Regions from separate parts of the Homo sapiens genome. Here region 2 is linked to region 1. The links are contacts of gene promoters, found by promoter capture Hi-C in human tissues and cell types (Jung and others, 2019). All regions are on one chromosome and are shown on one strand. Each heading gives the region's core, a stretch centred on a gene start or on the middle of the fragment in contact. The rest is flanking DNA. Distances are from core to core; before and after follow the strand shown. Region 1 holds the start of VSTM2B (V-set and transmembrane domain containing 2B). Region 2 overlaps VSTM2B-DT (VSTM2B divergent transcript).

Region 1 (2,521 bases), core at 10-2,509:
CCTCCCGTACTGTCACATCTTTGGGGACTTCTGTGAATGCAGCTGGGGGTGGGGAGAGAGAGAGAGGCGTGACCAGCTGTAGGTCGGGGGCCTGGGGCAACCTAAAGCGAGGCAGTCGGTCTCTGGCTGGCTGGCCTTGTGCCCCCCACCCCGCAGCTGCTCCCTGGCGCACGGCCGGAGGGGCTAGCAAAGTTCGGGGAAGCGGCTGCAGGGCCGAGGCAGGGACCGGCCATCGGCTGCCTACTGCTTCCCTCCGGATGGGGCGGGGCGGCAGGGGCGACTCGTGCTTCTCCCCCGCCCCTGGCCGCACCGCCAGAGCCTGGCTGGGGCGCGCCTACTCCCGCTCCCCGCAGGCATCCTTTCCGCAGCCGGGGCCCCGGCGGGACTGGGAACGACTCGGGCGCGGCGCTGCTGCTGCGGCGACCCTTCGCCGCTCGCCTCTCCCTACCCCTCCGGGCCCAGGCTGCACAGCGGGATTGCTGGAGACCGCGAAGCTTCCCGGTTCGTTCTCTTTCTTCTTCTTCTCGGTGGCGGCCCCAGCAAAGACCCCCCCGAGTCCACAGCGGCAGCAAAGTTCCCGCGCTCACCGTCGGCCACGAAGAGCAGCAGGGCATGCAGCAGCAGAGGCGGCAGGTATCCGAGGGCACCGAGCCGGTTCCGCTGTTCCATCTCCCGCGGGGGGCGCGGTGGCGGCGGGGGCCCGGGAGCGGAGAGGCGGCGGCCGCGTGGGCTCGGATCGGCTCCGGCTCGGGCTAGGACGCCTCCGAGCCTGCCATGGCCCCGCGCGGCGCCCCCTCCCCTGGCCGCCGGCGGCCGCCAATCAGCCCCGCTCCCTCGCCGGCTTGCCCGGTGCGGCTCCGGCGGGGGGCGCTGCGCGGGGTGTGCAGGAGACGCGGTCCCACCGGGAGGCTGCTGGCGATCGGTCAGTGCCTCTCTCTGTCCGGTCGTCCACAGGACGGTGGGGATCCGCGGTTCAGTCTCTGCCCGGCGGGCCGGGCAGGGGCTGGGCCGCGCCGGGACCCATCCCTGGCCGAGGGAGTGCGTGCCACGGAGCCGCGAGCTTCTGCCTCCCTGTCTCCTTCTGGTTCTGCTCCCGATTGCCACCTCCTTCGGCTCCCGCAGCCGCCCCCGCCGGTTCCTCCGCGGCTCTTTCCGCAGGGCGAGTGGGCGCTCAGCCGCGGCGCGCAGACCTGGCGTCCGACCCAGCGCAGCGCGGGGAGAGCGGGTCCGGCGTGGCGGACCCGGAGCCGGAGAGAGGCGGGGAGAGGGGGAGGGGAGGGGAAGGGAGGGGGCGGTCAGTGGCTGGGCGCCAAGCCGCCTCCACCGCTGCATCGCCCCCGCCCTCCCCTCTCCTGCCACAGCCCGCCCCGCCCCCGCCCCAGAGCGCTCCCCCTCTCTCCTCGGGGGTCGCTCGGAGGGACCACCGTCTTTCTGGTTGGAGTACAGCCCCGCCCCGCACCCGCTTGGGTTGGGAGTCCTCCCACCCAAACTCTCCCTGGCTTCTTCCCAGTCTGCACGGCTCGAGACGGCCGCTCATCCCTGCTCCCCGTGTGTCCCTCGGTCCTCTCTGCAGCTCCCAGCCCTCAACTCCTTACCCCAGTTTGGGCAACCAGCTGCCCCGCTGTTTGGCCCAGGCCTGGGCCATGACGGATGGGTGGGCGCCCGGGGCCGCGAGAAGGGCGGAACGCTGTGCCCAGCCGGAGACTACGCTGGGTGGCGGCGGCAGCGCCGGGAGTCTGCAGTGCGCGAGGGAGAAGTGAGCGCACAGCGCCCAGCGAGCAGGTGCCTGCGGCGCGGAGAGCGCACACGCTAGCCAGCCCGCAGCGGCCGTGAGTGACGGCAGGGGCGGCGGGGGTGGGGTGGGGTGGGGAGCGCCGGGCACGACTCAGGGCCCGGGAGGTTTCCGGGAGGGGGCGGGGTTCCTGCCCCTGGATCGCGGGTCCCTGTGTCTCCACGCGCTCTTCGCCGGTCGTGGCCCCTTCTTTGCCCGGTGCAAAGCGAGATGCCGAGGCGGCAGGAAGCCGGAACCCATCCCCCGCCTGCTCTGGCGTACTCGGCATCCCGGTACCTCCCCCAGCCTTCACCCGGAGTCTGCTCCCTCCCCAGCCATCTGAGGGAGCGCGGTCTGGTCCCCGAAGGCAAATGCGGGGTGGACATGTGGTTCGGACGCAGCGCGTAGTCATAGTCATAGGGGCGAGTCCTAAGGCTCGCCTTGGGTCTCTCCTATCTCCTTCCCCCGGGAGTCCCCAGCTAGTGCGTTTCGGCACCTCTGCCCCTACCCCGGCCCCTACGCCTCAGCTCTGACCTCAGGTTGGGGTGGGGCAGCCCGGTGGATTCACGTGCCTGCTTCCCCGGCTACCAGCCTCCCGGAGGCACCGCCAGAGGATTCCCTGGGAGCCAAGGAGAAGGAAACCCAGAGGGAAAACACTCTCCAGCAGCCACCCTGGTCCAGGCGGCCAGCGCAGCACAGCTCAGAGGGGAGGAGCTGCAGGCCCTCTCCAAGGCTGTCCTCGCCAGCGGG
Region 2 (2,521 bases), core at 6-2,505, 230 kb after region 1:
CCAGGCTCCCGTGACCTCTGTTTCCAGCTCGGTTAGTCAATGGGGGCGGGACTGGTTGGATGGAAGAAAGAGATCGGGATATTCATCTGCCCTGCTCCCTCCCTGCTAGGCTAAAAGTGGCAGGGGTTGGGCTCCTCTCTGAAATCCCCAGCTCCTTCCTGTGGCCTCTTCCACAGTGGCACTGTCCCCTGTGGGTCAGGCAGTAGTGATGTGCACAGCCGTGGCCTTGGGTTTACTGCATCCCTCTAGTCCTCTCTATCCCATGTGAGCAGTCCCTTCACTAAACTCTTCTCAATGACTCTGAGTGTGCCTCAGTTTCCCCAAGACCCCTGACAGATACAGAAGGTGACACCTGTGTGTTCCTGGTGGCCTAGGGAAGACCCCATGAGGGTCTCTCCCTCCAGAAACTCTTCTCTTTTCTTTGCCCACAGTTTCTTCTCTCTCGCTTTCTACCTATTGCTATTTTTTTCTCATCATTCAAGCTGATGTTCTGATGTCCCTTCTCCTGGGGGTCTTCCAGGATGTCTCTGGTCAGCTTATGGAGCCTCCCACCAGGCCATCTCAGGCATTGCTTAGCCAGGTTGGTTGCTGACAACTGGAACGCCCTAGGACATTGGCATAATCCGAGGGCAGGGGCCACATTTGTCATCCCTGGGCTTCCCTCTCTGGCATGGGACCCGGCTGAGCTGCGTTTTTGGTAGTGATAACTGGGTACCAAATAGATCTGAATTACAGCCCAGAGTCCTGTGTTCTTCAGGCTTAAGGGGGCCACACTTTCCTCCAACTTCAAATATGCAGACTCAAGCCCCTACTCTGCATGCTGTGAGATGTCTAGTGTCTTCTCAACTTCTCCGAGGATTCCTAAGGGAGCACATATCCCTGGATACTCAGCCCTGAGATAGGAGGCGGGACTTGACTTTGGAGGCAGGGCTCAGACACCGGACCAAATTGCGGACTAGCTAAAACAGGTACAAGGCAGAAGCAGCTTCCCGTAAGACACACCCACCAGTGTACCATGTCAGTTACCATTGCCATGGCAACACCTGGGAGTTACCACCCTTTTCTTAGAAATTTCTGCATAACCCTCCCCTTAATTTGCATGTCATTAAAAGTGGGTATAAATATGAGTGCAGCACTGCCTCTGAACTGCTACTCTGGGCCCACTGCCTGTGGGGTATCCCTGCTCTGCAAGGAGCAGTCCTTCTACTGCTGCTGTGCACTGCAGCTTCCATAAAACGTGTCTGATACCACCAGCTCACCCTTGAATGCTTTCCTGGGTGAAGCCAAGAGTCCTCCTGGGCTGAGACCCAGTTTTGGAGCTCACCTACCTGCATCTGCCCTGCTGAGTTCTTGTCCCCCACTCTCTTTCCATGGCTGCTCTCTTCTCTCTATCTTAATTCACCCCCAATGTTCCTCTTTCTTTGTTTCCCAAAGCATAACTAATGAGAGGCTAAGATGTTTCATACCGAAGGGTCAGGGACACCAGATAGTTAATATCAGCATATCACAGAATGCACCGACTTGATGTGGCTGTTTTGTGAGCAATCCTTGCCTTGTGGCCCCCTGACCATCCCTCTACAGGGAGTAACTCCTGACTGCCTTCCTTCCAAGGTCCAATCCACTCCTGCCAGTTGACCTTTGTGTCCCAAGCTCCGTCAATTTTCTTCTTCGCATCACAAGCCCCCTCCAAACAAACAAGACAAAAACTCCAATCACTACAGAGCAGAGCGCTCTGCCTTTCTCCTTCCCACTGTGCCCTGGGGCCTATATTTTCACACACACAAAGAGATCCTCTGAAGTATGTTTCTAAACAAAAAGGCCACCTACCCCTACGAAGAACTTGGCCTCTGCCTGAGAGTGCTGCAGCCACTGCAGTCAAATTTTGTTTTAAATAACAGCATCTTTTCTTCTTGTTACTCAATTCTAACTTAGGCTTCTGGGCTGGGGCCCCGGGGGTCACTTGTCTATTCCAAACTTTCCTAGGAGTCATTGAGGCTGGGCACTGTTTTTCACAATGACTTCTGCTCTCATTTGGTGCTTAGCACACTGCTGGGCACAGGTGCTGCTGCAGATGGCTCTCATGCTCTGTGCCACATCCTGGGCCCTCCTGACATCAGCACTGCAGTGAGCAGTGCCAGGCCCATCACCAGGGTCTCACTTCTGGCAGGCAGCCTGCAACCTCTGCTTTTTTGATTCGGAGCTTTCTTTGAGCTGTGGGAGTCTAATCAGCCATGCAGAGGCACAGTCTGGAAGAGCAGAAGGGTTAACACACTCAAGGATGAACCCTCTACCAGCAGGGGATGCTGTGGGGATCCACGCCCAATCTCTAGTCCTTCAGAGGGGCAGTTCTGAGCTCCATGCTCCCCTGCTCTCCAGAGACTGCTCGAAGAATTTCACAACACTGCGTTGGCCCTGCAGATTGGGCCCCCATTTCCCACAGGGCTGCACCCTGTCACTGGCTTCCTCCTGCTCCGTTGCTCCTGTTCCCTGAGGTCACCTCTCAAATCAACTACTTGCACCC

Evidence for each region. The method cuts DNA at HindIII sites, captures the fragments that hold promoters and counts their contacts. A contact is called where the count stands out against the background at its distance.
Region 2: a contact is called between a fragment that was not itself captured here and the fragment with the promoter of VSTM2B in region 1, in 3 of the 25 tissues and cell types used here (H1 embryonic stem cells, dorsolateral prefrontal cortex and mesendoderm cells).

Annotation. Positions count from the first base shown.
Region 1 is chr19:29,524,732-29,527,252 of GRCh38, reverse strand. VSTM2B (V-set and transmembrane domain containing 2B) reads right to left here and starts at 1,259. Exons shown (of 5, transcript NM_001146339.2): 1 at 588-1,259; 2 at 1-42. The coding sequence starts at 669. It overlaps VSTM2B-DT (VSTM2B divergent transcript), which reads left to right and starts at 1,503. Exons shown (of 10, transcript NR_040029.2): 1 at 1,503-1,829. All of the region lies in intron 1 of LOC124904683 (a long non-coding RNA gene), which reads left to right. The HindIII fragment of the contact is 17,468 bases long and covers 1-2,521 here.
Region 2 is chr19:29,290,849-29,293,369 of GRCh38, reverse strand. All of the region lies in intron 9 of VSTM2B-DT (VSTM2B divergent transcript), which reads left to right. Among named protein-coding and RNA genes, the nearest start is that of UQCRFS1-DT, 79 kb to the right of the region's middle. The HindIII fragment of the contact is 8,231 bases long and covers 1-2,521 here.